Linked DNA regions of Homo sapiens: all the other regions are linked to region 4. The links are contacts of gene promoters, found by promoter capture Hi-C in blood cells and fetal thymus (Javierre and others, 2016). All regions are on one chromosome and are shown on one strand. The core of a region is centred on a gene start or on the middle of the fragment in contact, and the rest is flanking DNA. Distances in the headings are between cores, read along the strand shown.

What was found. The method cuts DNA at HindIII sites, captures the fragments that hold promoters and counts their contacts. A CHiCAGO score of 5 or more calls a contact.
Region 1: a fragment that was not itself captured here is called in contact with the fragment with the promoter of TBC1D15 in region 4 in 1 of 17 cell types (activated CD4 T cells); the score reaches 5.6 in activated CD4 T cells.
Region 2: a fragment that was not itself captured here is called in contact with the fragment with the promoter of TBC1D15 in region 4 in 4 of 17 cell types (total CD4 T cells, total B cells, non-activated CD4 T cells and 1 more); the score reaches 6.0 in total CD4 T cells.
Region 3: a contact is called between a fragment that was not itself captured here and the fragment with the promoter of TBC1D15 in region 4, in 1 of 17 cell types (non-activated CD4 T cells). The highest score is 5.1, in non-activated CD4 T cells.
Region 5: a fragment that was not itself captured here is called in contact with the fragment with the promoter of TBC1D15 in region 4 in 1 of 17 cell types (naive CD8 T cells); the score reaches 6.8 in naive CD8 T cells.

The regions. Positions count from the first base shown.
Region 1 is chr12:70,231,053-70,233,752 of GRCh38, forward strand. The region is part of intron 3 of PRANCR (progenitor renewal associated non-coding RNA); the gene reads right to left. Among named protein-coding and RNA genes, the nearest start is that of PRANCR, 11 kb to the right of the region's middle. The HindIII fragment of the contact is 1,652 bases long and covers 542-2,193 here.
Region 2 is chr12:70,368,966-70,371,665 of GRCh38, forward strand. The region is part of intron 1 of KCNMB4 (potassium calcium-activated channel subfamily M regulatory beta subunit 4); the gene reads left to right. Among named protein-coding and RNA genes, the nearest start is that of KCNMB4, 4.0 kb to the left of the region's middle. RefSeq lists a silencer at 880-1,080. The HindIII fragment of the contact is 5,253 bases long and covers 1-2,700 here.
Region 3 is chr12:70,350,567-70,353,266 of GRCh38, forward strand. All of the region lies in intron 15 of CNOT2 (CCR4-NOT transcription complex subunit 2), which reads left to right. Among named protein-coding and RNA genes, the nearest start is that of KCNMB4, 14 kb to the right of the region's middle. RefSeq lists a silencer at 1,469-1,669. The HindIII fragment of the contact is 1,420 bases long and covers 650-2,069 here.
Region 4 is chr12:71,838,317-71,841,020 of GRCh38, forward strand. It overlaps TBC1D15 (TBC1 domain family member 15), which reads left to right and starts at 1,443. Exons shown (of 17, transcript NM_001146213.3): 1 at 1,443-1,495. The coding sequence starts at 1,466. The HindIII fragment of the contact is 6,842 bases long and covers 1-2,704 here.
Region 5 is chr12:70,252,562-70,255,261 of GRCh38, forward strand. The region is part of intron 1 of CNOT2 (CCR4-NOT transcription complex subunit 2); the gene reads left to right. Among named protein-coding and RNA genes, the nearest start is that of CNOT2, 10 kb to the left of the region's middle. The HindIII fragment of the contact is 4,496 bases long and covers 1-2,700 here.

The sequences.
Region 1 (2,700 bases), core at 118-2,617, 1.6 Mb before region 4:
TGCATGCCTCTAGTCCCATCTGCTCTGAAGGCTGAGGTGAGTGGATCACTTGAGCCCAGGAGTTGGAGACTGCAGTGAGCTCTGATTGCGCCACACTGTACTCTAGCCTGGGTGACAGAGTGAGACCCTGTCTCAAAAACATACGGGGAAAAAAAAAAAAAGAAGAAGAAAAAAAAGTAACAAACAAATTTGGCAATAATGAAACCTCTTAATTCAGAGCATTACAATGAAATCCTTTGCTTTTTAACAGAATACTTACCAGTATCTTATGGAACTAGTGTACTGAGGAATCTAGTTTAGAACCTTCCTTTCCTTTTACTTTTTCCTTTCCTTTTTCCTTTCCCTTTTCCTTTTTTTCTTCCTTCCTTTTTCCTTCCTCTCTCCCTCCTTCATTCCCTTTTTGTAATTTTTGTTTCTATAAGGAACTAGGCAAAGCCAAGTAAATTCTTTAACTTAATTAAAGAAGTGTAATAGCTCTCTTTTGCTCCCACTCCACCATGTTGAGATGCCTGCTCACCCTTCACCTTCCACCATGATTGTAAGCTTCCTGAAGCCCTCATTAGAAGTCAGGCAGATTCTGGTACCATGCTTCCTGTACAGCCTGCAGAACTGTGATCCAATTAAATCTTTTTTTCTTATAAATTAAAAAAAAGTATAATAAATATGTCTGTTGTTGTTGGTTCATTCAAAACAGATTTTCTCTTCCCTCTGCTCTATTGTAAGTGGTGTTGTTTTTAATAAGATTCTAAGATTCCCTAGCTTTTAGCAAGAAGAGATGTTTTCAGGATAAGGCTTTCAAAAAGGTCTTCCTTACTAAGTATTTAGAAGTCCTGTGTTTTACGGTATCTTTTTGTGCTACATTATCACCTGTTTCTTCAGTGGCAGCTGCTGAGTTTGTAAAAGATCAATTGGCTGTTTCTCTGGATTTTGCCATTTAACTATTACATGCTCGCTTATATGGGTTATGCTTATGAAGAGTTGTTTCCTAATTGCAGGCTGCTTCATTAGAAGGAAAAGAAGAGGTTTTGGGATAATATTCCTCCAGAATCACCTTCACCAAAGTTATGGCAGCTGTAGCAACTTTTATAATCTAGAATCTAATGGAAACTAATCTTACTCTTACTGAGGAAGTACAATAAGTGTTTTATAAAATATGGTGTTTACCTCTACATTAGGCAGTGTTTTTAAAAATCTTAATTAACACTATCAATTCTAACTACTTCAGAGTTGGACATCATATTAAAAATGTAAGGTTGTTTAAGAACTGTTGTAAATATCTGGTAACTATCTTCTTCTAAACAATGTCTTTAAAAAGTGGTGCGTCTTTTAAAACCCTCTTAGTAATTGTGAAAGGGATGCCATTACATAAACTCAAGATTAGTTAACATGTTTATTTTTTAAAGTGACTTAAAAACATATTTTTATGGCAGGAAAATAAAACATGATCACTAGTTGACGCTATAAAATGTAATCATTTAGGGATATGTTTTACGTCCCCACCTTACCTGATTTTAGTTCTCAACAGAAAATATTTAACTCAACTAGCTAGCACATTTATATTTCTGTTGTTGTTTTTTTACATGGCTGTCTATATAGTCTATTATTTTCTTGCATTTTCCTTTTCAGGTGCCTCATTAGTAATTTTATTAAAAATTCTTAGATTACGTGTGGTTTTCCACATAAAACTATTATCATCATCATCGCAACTATTTGAGTGGTTGGTTCATTCCATACACTATACTAAGCATTTGCATATGTCGTCTGATGAAATTTTTTTTTTTTTTTGAGATGGAGTCTCGCTCTGTCATCCATGCTGGAGTGCAGTGGCGCAATCTCGGCTCACCGCAAGCTCCACCTCCCGGGTTCATGCCATTCTCCTGCCTTAGCCTCGAGTAGCTGGGACTACAGGCGCCCACCACCACGCCGGGCTAAGTTTTTTGTATTTTTAGTAGAGATGGGGTTTCACCGTATTAGCCAGGATGGTCTCGATCTCCTGACCTCGTGATCTGCTCGCCCCGACCTCCCAAAGTGCTGAGATTACAGGCGTGAGCCACCGCGCCTGGCCCATCCGATAAAATTTTTATGACAATCCTGAAAGGCATAGTCATATTTTTATGCTCGAATTTTAGGCAGCAAAACTGAGGTTTGTAGAAGTAATTTTTAAAATACTGCATTTTTTTCAAAGGGCACTGAAGCTTGCATGTGTTTCGGTTAGATAAAATTGCAGATCTTAGCTATTCAAAACCCTTACGCTCATAATCTTGCTTCTTAAATCCCTAGTGGCCCACTAACATATTCTTTAGTATTTGTGAGTTCTCACAAAAAATCTTTAGTTTTGTAGCTTTATTTCAAAGGTAATCTAAAAGTTAACATAACTCTGTTTTGGATTAAAAAAACACCATTATATAAATAAATACTTCGACTTGAGTGCCCATGTTTTTGTTTGCTTATAATGGAGTTGGAGCCAGACTATCTAACTTAAAATTGCCCTGGACTACAGTAAAGAGTAAGTTAATTAATGATCCATTTATGCCAGGTAAAGGTCAAATACTGTAATTGCTTGCTTCTGGTATAAAGGTTTCAAAAAAATCGTAAGAGAAAACTGTTAGGAAAATTGAGTTATCACATAGCAACATAGGTATCTCAAATTCAAATAAATCTGTGCTCTATTTCCAGTGATGATTTAGGCTTAACAAAAAA
Region 2 (2,700 bases), core at 13-2,512, 1.5 Mb before region 4:
TCTCTTTTCTTTATCTCTCTCTCCCCTGAAAATAATCATTTTTTTTCCAGTGCCAGTTCAGATCTTGGCAACAGTTGTTTTGAAAAAGTACCTGAACAAAATACATTTTATAAAGTAAAGTATTCAGGAACTGACAGAACTGGAGAAGAATATATTTATGTTACAGAAGTCATGGACAACATCCTATTCATTTTAGTCAAGGTTTTCTCAGCCAAACCAATTTATATCTCTTTATCCAGATTATAATTATGTTGTATCATTTATAGACTGTAAGTTTGTTCTTTAGCATCACCTTTCTATTTTTGACCAATAAATTCTCAATTTGGAAATTCTTATAGGCAGTGTGATGGAAAAATTCAATGTAATAAAAATATTATGCCAGAGTCATGTACATAAGCAGAGTGTTTCCACAGTGTCCCTGCAATTAGGCAATACCCATTGTCCATTCCTGTTGGCTCTTGGCTGCCTAGATCTTTTCTTTGCCTTACTTTACCTCTTTATTGAAGGCCTATGCTTCCCCTCTGTTTCTTTGTAGAATGTCTAGATTCCCAACAGTGTCTTGAATCCCAGCCGCCTCCAGGCTTTTCTTCATGACCCACCAACACAAGAAACCACTTAGGAAATCACTTCTTAGAAAAAATAGAATAAGGAGTTTTTTCCTCTCCCTTGAGTTTCCTGCATTAATTACAGTAAGAGGCAGGAGAGGGAAAGAATACATTGCAAATACAGAATTTCTTAAGCCATAAGCTGCTGAAGAAGATACTGTGAGTAAATTTGATCTTTGACTAATAATTTCTTTAAAATACCTTGAGTTCCTACTGAATTTATTTGTATTTTGAATCATATCCTTATTGTCTAAAGCAATCACTATATCCAGTCTTGTAATAGAGTATTCAAGGCAACAAATTGTCCACAGGGAGATTATCTCTGTGGATTAACCATAGCAAAATCTAAATTCGGGGTCAACTTCCTCTTGCTACTATTCCAGTCACTGCACTATCTCTTGGTGACTCACAGTTGTATATGCTAGGAGCTTTGGTTCTCACCTATGGCTGTACCTTAGAATCACCAGGGGAACTTTAAAAAGAAGTTCTTATGGCTGGGTCCAACTCTCCAAGATTCTGATTTGGTCTTGGGTGGGGCCTGGGCATTGATGTTTTTTAAAAGTTCTGTGATGATTCTAATGTGAAGACAAGATTCAAAAACCACTGTCTTAGAAAATGTTCTCATCTGCTGTGCAAGAAAAACAACCTGAGAACCAAAAAGGAGTCATTGTGATTAATATTTGTGTTTTCAGATTAAAAGATATTGTTGGTGCTACTGAATTTTTTGTTTTTTTTTGTTTTTTTGTTTTTTTTTTGAGACAGAGTCTCGCTCTGTCGCCCAGGCTGGAGTGCATTGGCATGATCTCGGCTCACTGCAAGCTCCGCCTCCCTGGTTCATGCCATTCTCCTGCCTCAGCCTCCCGAGTAGCTGGGACTACAGGCGCCCACCACCACGCCTGGCTAATTTTTTCTATTTTTAGTGAGATGAGGTTTCACCATGTTAGCCAGGATGGTCTCGATCTCCTGACCTCGTGATCCACCCCTGCCTTGGCCTCCCAAAGGGCTGGGATTACAGGCATGAGCCACCGCGCCCGGCCAGTGCTACTGAATTTAGGGAGTCGGTATAAAAGGAAATTCTGAAGGAAAGGGAGAGTATTATTTAAAATTATTATGTAAATAATAGTTTAAAACCAATAAGTTTAAATGAAATGAACTTGATTCCAGACATTTGCATTTGCATAATTATATACATTGGATGGCCAAAAAAAAAAAAAGGTGAGTTTTTAAAACTGCCCTCTTGTATGTGAGACAAGACAGAGTGAGTGATTAGAGATAATATGGTTATTTCATTTATTTATTTATTTATTTTTGAGTCTCATTCTGTTGTCCAGGCTGGAGTGCAGTGGCATGATCTCAGCTCACTGCAACTTCCGCCTCCTGGGTTCAAGCAATTCCCCTGCATCAGCCACCCAAGTAGCTGGGCTTACGGGCATGTGCTACCACACCCAGCTAATTTTTGTATATTTAGTAGAGACAGGGTTTCACTATGTTGGCCAGGCGGGTCTCCAACTCCTGGCCTCAAGTGATCCCCCTGCCTCAGCCTCCCAAAGTGCTGGGATTACAGGCGTGAGCCAACACGCCCGGTCTATATGTTTATTTTTATTTTGAGTTTTTTTTTCCCCTTCCTCTAATAATAAAAACCTAGAAACAAAGGATAAAAGGCTCCTTCTAAGAAACCAGTACTCTAGAAGTGAGAGAAATGCATTAAGGAGAAGAAAAACTTAGGTGGGACTGAATAAGGCTTCAGGCATTACGTTTGCTGAAGTTGGATGTACCTAACTACAGGGCGTGGTGGCTCACAGTCACCTAGGCCCTCTCCACATCCACTCATGTACCCTGTCCCAGTGCACTGTAGGAGAGGCAGTGTGGCCTGCCTGGAATTGTTTCTGAACTCCTTCCTGGAACATTCAGTTTGATACATTTTGCGCTCTAGAGACATCCATCATATCAGAACTACATGATAAAAGGCTAAGCAGAATTGTGATGACTTCTTTGTAACCTTTATTTATCTTGAAAAAGTGGCATTTCTTGGTTGTTTTTCCTTTGGAGATGATGTTATATAATGTTTGGTATATACATAAAATTCAATCAGGAA
Region 3 (2,700 bases), core at 110-2,609, 1.5 Mb before region 4:
CAAGTGGAAAATTCCATACCTGACACCTTTGCTTTCTGATGGTTCAGTGTACAGTGTAAACAAACCTTATTTTCTGCACAAAATATTAGTAACATTGTATAAAATTACCCTCAGGGTATGTGAATAAGGTATATATAAAACATAAATGAATTTCATGGTTAGACTTGGGTCCCATCCCCAAGATACCTCATTTTATATGTATAAATATTCCAAAATCCAAACACTTCTGTTCCCAGAATAAGCAAAATCTCAGATAAGAGATACTCAACATGTAGGTAAGAGAAAGCTGACATTTCATGAGAATTTGAGAAAACACCTCTGCAGTGTGTGTTTCTCTACATAACTAGATCAGTGATTACATTAATGTTTTTGTAATATTATTTGACTATATGAATCCATTGCATTCAGTTTTGCTTGAATTGAACAAGTAACCTTTGGAGAATACATAGCCTAATTTTATTAATAGAAGAACTAAGGTATGAAAAAGTTGTCTAAAAAGTATTTGGAACTCTTTCTAGCCTTTGCAATCATATTATAATCTAGAAATCCTTTTTTTTCCACTAAAAGCAAATATATACATAGACCCTCTAATGTATCATTTGATAATATTAGAAAAATTAAATGTTTTGTTCCTAAAACAAAGGAAGAAAGCTTGTGTTTATTCATCATATATTAATTACACATCCATTAGGGGCTTGGCACTATTCCAAGTTGTAGGTAGTAGTATACAAAGTAGATAGACACTTGCTCCTACAGAATGTATGAGGTTGTGCATGTGTGTAGTATGTGTGTGTATATATAACAAACATGTAAATGGTGTTACCAGTAATCAAAGTAACTTATGTATTTTAAGAAGAATAAAAGTACGTGGAAAACAAGATTTTAAAACGTGGAAGGCAAAATTTTACCTATGTAATTTCTAAATCTCTGATCTCTATATCAAAATTTCTAAATCTCTATATCAAAATTATTTACGCTGCTTAGGTTTAAACTATATTTTTCTGGGGGAAAATGTACATTGATAAAGTTAATCTAGTTTGAATTCCTAGTCATACATTGTAGTTCATCAATGTGAAAAATTTTAGTTAACTTACTCAGTATAACTTACCACTTTGTGGAAGTTACAATTAGACTTTTTTTCCCTGTAACTACACATTTTGAAAACAAAAATGCCAATTTTAATTTCAGAAGAATGATAACAAATTTTCTTCACGAATTCAGATAGTCAACTTGAACCAAGCAATAAAATTATTTTAATTCCTAGCTAGGGCTGGGAGAGGGGGAGTAGTGCTACACAGTGTATTAGGGCAGGATGTCATGGTTGTGGTGGTGATTCTGGTGTTTGCTAATTTTTACTGATAAGCAAATAACCTCTGTGTCTTAATTACTGTACCAGTCACATGAAGGCAACCTTTTCAGGCTAAAGTCACCATGGTGTACCTTCTTTATAAACTCTCAGGGGACTGATTTTTTTTTTCCTTTTTCTTCACCTTATACCAAGAGAGAAGGGGACTGAATTCTTTCAGCATTTCTGGATTGCCTTGTAATGAAGTAAATGAATCTGTTTTGGATCTTGGACTAAAAATATTAAAAATAATGTGTTACACTACAAAAGACACAGGCTTTTTGTCACATGGAGGCTTTTTGTCACATGGGTCTGGATCCTAATGCTAGGTGTGCCGCTTACTGATGACTTGTCCAAGTTACTTGTAAGCCTCATTTTCTTCAGGTACAAAATGAAAATAATGATATCTGCTTTACAGAATTATTACAAAGATTAGAATAAAATTAGCTGTATCTCTAATTTTAGCACATACTAGGCTTTCAATAAATTCTGCTGTTAGGTCTGTAATATCTTTAAATTTATTTAAGTGTAATATCTTTAAATTTTAAATACTTGGTGTTCCATCTTAAAATTTGGTCATTATAGTCTAGGTTTTCATTTTAATTTAATAATGGAAATACTCATCATGGAATCAGTTTGAAACCAGACAGATAAGGTAAAATATGTTAACCCATGGTAGCTAATGTCACTTGTTGCCTTAATCTTTAATACATAATACATATTAAGCTTCATAATTCTTTAAGTTGGATTATGCAGTAATTTGTGCTAATTCAGATGGTAGAATTGGTAAGAGGCTTTTAGAGCCTCTTGCTTATTGGGGTTGCAGAGGTATTTGTTGTTTGCATTTTTTTCTAATATACATAGCTATTCTGCATCTCTATTCTTGATCTTGGGTGGGAAGTATCATGAAGAAATTATGTCACCATTCTTAAATTTTAAAACTCATGAAGTTAATACAGTATTTTGAAAGTTTGATTAAAGTGAGCTGCTATCTAGTTTTCAAATGTTCCTACAGCAGAACCATTGTCTAGTTTTCGGTGGCAGTTGATTTATATTTGAGTCAGGGTTTTGGGTTTGTGAAATGCAAGTCTAGTGATGTGTGAGTTTTAAGTTCATTATTTTCCCCAGATTTTAATGAGGTTAGAATAATTTTATGTGTTTTCCTTTTTTTTTTTTTTTTAGACGGAGTCTTGCTTTGTCATCTGGGCTGGAGTGCAGTGGTGCAATCTTGGCTCACTGCAACCTCCACCTGCCAGGTTCAAGCGATTCTCCTGCCTCAGCCTCCTGAGTAGCTGCTACTACAGGCGTGCACCACTACGCCCAGCTAATTTTTGTATTTTTAGTACAGACGGGGT
Region 4 (2,704 bases), core at 193-2,692:
CCTAGCACGCAATCTCCCTAATATGCTACGCATTCATTCCCACCTAAGGTTCCACCACTTTCCTCACCTATTAGGTTCCTGGTAGTCACATAACCGGCAACTCTCCTTTTCTGTCGTTCAGCTAGTTGCCACCTACCTCAACCAAACTCAAAAGCCTCTAACCCCTCTCCACTGTGTGAAGACGGAAGTACCTCAATGGACACAAGTGTTTTTGGTGAAAGGGACTTTTTATTCTGCCCCGGAGCTAGGGAAATCCCAGATCTGTGCCAGAGTTATCAAGGGGGTAGTATATAATCATTCTCTGCATTCTTTTACAGCACTGAGAACAAGTAAAATTCTTACCTTAGTATCTTTACAAATCATTTTACCACACATGTATTGTCGTATGAAATCCCTACAACCACTCCATGCAGGAGTAATTCCCAGTTTACATCCTGAAGCTCTGATAAATTTAGAAACCTGCTTTAAGTCACAGAGCTAATAAGTAATGTGTAGGTGCTATAAACTATGTGCCTTGGGCTCTGCAGCTATGAGGGCGTGGTATTATCACAGTTCCTATCGAAATACCTTGCTGGAGGTCATGTGTGAGTGGCAGTGACCAGACAAATAGAGAAACCTCATATACAGAGGGGAAAAGTCTCCATGTATAGTGCCTGGGATATCTCCATGTTAGTGCTGCTCTTTCTTGGATCTTCACCGCAACGCCACTATCTTGATTTTACTATAAGAAACTGAGGTTTCGAGTGCACTGGTGATTTGCCTACTGCCACAAAACCAGGCTAATGGGCTGGGCGCGGTGGCTCAAGCCTGTAATCCCAGCTCTCTGGGCAAAGGCTGAAGCGGACGGATCACCTGAAGTCAGGAGTTCGAGACCAGCCTGGGCAACATTGGCGAAATCTCGTCTCTAATAAAAATTTAAAAATTAGCTGGGCGTTTGACGCGCGCCTGTAATCCCAGCTACCCGGGAGGCTGAGGCTTGAGAATCGCTTGAACCGAGTGGCGGAGGCTGCAATGAGCCGAGATCGCGCCACTGCACTCCAGCCTGAGCGACAGAGCGAGACTCCTTTTCTACAACAACAACAAAAAACCAGGACAAATCTTGCTGGCTTCCAGTATGGTATTCGTTTCATCTCACCAAACTGGCGTGGCCTGCGCTAGCTTCAGAGTCTCGACAAACTCCAATACAAGTAAGGTACACATTATTTTAGCAGTCTTCCTTGGGGAGGACGTGGGGCAAGCACAAGCGTAGCGTTAGGCCTGAGACTCCACCCCAGCCGTCTCTGAGCCCAGTTCAGCACGCACGCGTCAGGCGGCTTTTTTCCGCCCGGCTCCTTTCCTCCACTCCCTTCCCGCCACTCCCCGCCCTTTTCCCGCCCGGATGTTATTCTAGTTTTGCCGGATGTTGTTGTATGTCCGAGAGACACGTGAGGTTCTGCTACGTCATTACCAGGCACGCGCAGGAAACATGGCGGCGGCGGGTGTTGTGAGCGGGAAGGTAGGTAACGGCCTCCAGGAAGACCTCGGCTTTTCTCTGGGACGGGGATGCTTTTGCTCCCTGGCAGCTGGTTGGGGGAGGGACACGAGGGACTTTCTGTGTCCGGACAACCCGTGGCGTCTGTAGGAGAAGACTGGGTGGTACCAGCTGGTTTCCCGAGAATGCCAGTTCAGCCGCGGAGTTATAGAGCCGGCTACTGCTCCAAGGCCAGCTAGGCCTCGGCGCTCTTCTGCCCCAGAGCAGAGAGGCTTTTATTCGTATTACCTTTACTAAGGGACAGGTGGCTCTCTAGTTCCTTTTTTCCCCCGATTCACTGTTTCTTGACTCTAGTTCTTTATGTCTACTCTTCTGACTCCAGCGTCTTTTCTCTCTTTGAAGCGTTAACCCGACTTGCCTCTGTCTTCTTTGCTACAGTTTGGTGAAGATGTTTATGCTTCCTTCGGGAGGAGCTGAATAGATGCTAGGCAGCTAGCTGTGCGCTTAGAAGAAACGAGTGTATTGGGTCTGTTTTTACCAAGCTGCTGAGTTGGTTGGTGGTTGTGAGCAGCAGGACGTGTTTCCTGAGAGAAATGGAGATTTACACCATCCTGTGCTTGTCTAGGAAGGCGTCCAAATATTTATTTCCTAGGCATTTCAGTAGGAGTATTGGTCATGCTGGTTTACGGAGGTGGTCAGTGACACGCCTAATTTCGTTGGAAACTAGAATTACGTGCGGAGATTTCGTCGAATAGTGCCTATTCGCGTTCCGAGGGCACATCTTATGCATAGTTAGGGCTATCAGCTTTATGATATGCCACCGATAGTATTTCCCAGTGCAGGAGTATTTCATAAACAGCTGGAATCAACTGAAGTGACTCATCGAACACTAATGGTTGTTTACTCATTGCAGATAGCGTCCTCTGTTCCTTGAGTTTCACTCATGTCTCCCTGTTGCTTTCCCTACCCCATTTTGAATTATTTGACAGCGTTTGTGGTTTGGTGTTTGGAGTATTAGACTAGGCGGCTGAATGACAAATATGGGCTTGGTTTTGCTGTTAATCTGAAGTATGACCTTGGAAAATTGGGCAATTGTGACTTTTGTCTTTTCGCGTTCTTTATCTGTAGAATGGAGGAGATGCCAATCATTATTTCTTGTATTGGAGTTGTTAGGGTTATATAAATTTTTTTTTAAAAAAACATAAAATTACACACTTGTACCTACTGGCTCTT
Region 5 (2,700 bases), core at 70-2,569, 1.6 Mb before region 4:
GATTGTCTATTTAGTTCACTTTTGACTGAGTAAAATGGAGCTGATCTATCTGCTATTAAAGAGAGTTATATTCTGAAATTTTACATGATGTTCATAATGCCTGGAACTAACCAGCCTGAAATGGAATCACCGTTGTACTGTTTTCAATTGGCTAGGTGACTTATTCTCCCTATACTTCAGTTTTCTCATTTGAAAAATGTAGATAAAAATAAATAAATAAAAACAAAGAAAAATGTAGATAAATAACAATACTTACCCAGTAGAACTGATGTAAGGATTAAAGTTTTTTGTGGGTTTTTTGTTCGTGTTCGTTTTGGAGTGGGACTTGTTAGGTTAAAGAGGAGCTTCTGGGGTATACAAGAATTAGCCACAATTTATTTCATAGAGTGCACTATACTCTTTTTTGTATCAGATTCGTAAATGTAAACAAGAATGCAGTCTTGCTCTTAGAGTCTAAACATGTTTTTCCTACCAGGAATTTTGTTTAGATGACCTTCTGTGAAGTAAGATGTGTAATATTTTGAGTAACATAAATAAATCGTCATATTGCTCTGTCTGTAGTACTTGGCAAAGCACAGGGCACATAATAGGCATTTAATAATTCCTGTGTTAAGTGGGATAAATCTAATGGGTTAGGATTCAGACAGACTGGTGTCTACCTTTTTCAACCTGAATAGTGCAGAGTTAGTTACCTGTAGTAGTTTTTTCTTCTGTGCCTGTTTTCTTCCTTAAAATTAATAAAATATTTTCTTCCCTTAAGTGTATTTAGTAGGTTTAAATATGACCCTGTAAAACTCCTGACAAGTAGGTATTTACTGTTGTTGGTTCCCATGCCATTTCCTTTATTTAGAGCAAAAATTGCAAAAATCCTGGAAGTTCAGAAGAAACACTTAGCACCTTTTATTTATTTTTTTGAAAGTTGAGAAATGTACCATTGAGTACGTGCTCATCTTTAATGAAGAGATAATATATTATTTTGGAAAGACTTCACACTTTGATTCAGATGATGGGTTCCAGTCTGGGCTCTATAAACTTACTAGCTGTGTGCCTGGACAAATCAATTAGTATTGAAGAGCCTCAGCTGTTTGATAATTTATACCTCCCAGTGTTGCTGATGGCAACTCAGATAATGAAAGAAAAAGTGTTTAACTGTAGAGCATGTCAAAGTATCATGATAATTATTCCTGATTATTAGTTACTGTAGTGAAACTAGTATAGTAGTTTCCCCTTAATTCAAGGGGAAATATGTTCTGAGACCCCAGTGGATGCCTGAAACTACAGATAGCACTGAACCTTATATGTACTGTTCCCCCCTATACATACATACCTATGATAAAGTTTAACTTGCACATTAGGTACAATAAGAGATGAGCAACAATAGCTAATAATAAAATAGGCCAGGCGCAGTGGCTCACGCCTGTAGTCCCAACACTTTGGGAGACCAAGGCGGGCAGATCACGAGGTCAGGAGATTGAGACCATCCTGGCTAGCACGATGAAACCCCGCCTCTACTAAAAAATACAAAAATTAGCCGGGAGTGGTGGCACGCGCCTGTAGTCCTAGCTACTCAGGAGGCGGAGGCAGGAGAATCGCTTGAACCCGGGAGGTGGAGTTTGCAGTGAGCCGAGATCACGCCACTGCACTCCAGCCTGGGGGACAGAGCGAGACTCTGTCTCAAAAAAAAAAAAAAAAGAACAATTATATAATATAAAAAAGTTAAATGAATGTGATCTCTCTCTCAAAACACCTCTTGTACTGTACTTCTTGTGATCTGTCAGTCTGATAATCAAGATAGTTACTAATGTGAATAAGGGGTGGGTAGCATATGTAGCAAGGATATCATGTCCCAGGTGGGATGGAGCGGGATGTCAGAAAATTTCATCACACTCCTCAGACTGGTGCCCAATTTAAAACGTATGAATTATTTATTTCTGGAATTTTCCATGTAATATTTTTGTACTGCGGTTCACCATGAATAACTGAAACTGAAGAAGAAGAAACCGCGGATAAGGGGAGAACTACTGTAGTTTCTTAAGTTGTATGATTGAATGATTCATTCATTTTTACCTGGTGATGCTGCTGCATTTGGGTGCTTTGCCCTTTATGCATTTTTATTTAAATAGATATCTGGTTTATTAGGCTAGGCGCAGTAGCTCATGCCTGTAATCCCAGCACTTTGGGAGGCCGAGGCGGGTGGATTGTAAGTTTTAGGAGTTCAAGATCAGCCTGGCCAACATGGAAAACCCTGTCTCTACTAAAAATACAAAAAATTAGCCAGGCATGGTGGCACGTGTCTCTAATCCGAGATGCTTGGGAGGCTGTGGCAGGAGAATCGCTTGAACCTGGGAGGCGGAGGTTGCAGTGAGTTGACATCATGCCAGTGTACACCAGCCTGGGTGACAGAGCAAGACTGCATCTCAAAAAAAAAAAAAAAAAAGAAGAAGAAGAAAAAAAGAAAACTGGCTTATTGGACTTTGGGAGGGGAGTTTGGAGAGATTGTGGGAGTGGTAAAAAAAGATTCTGCTATGTTCATCGGAGCAGGCCAGTTAATTGAGTATTTTTGCATGCTGAGGTCCTGATGCTTTCTCTATGTATCTATAGCAGGAAATTTACTTCATCTTAACTCCTGCTTCATTAGGGTAAAATATCATGATAATCTTTGGGGTATTCCCATTTTTGTAACTGTATTTGTGTCCTTTC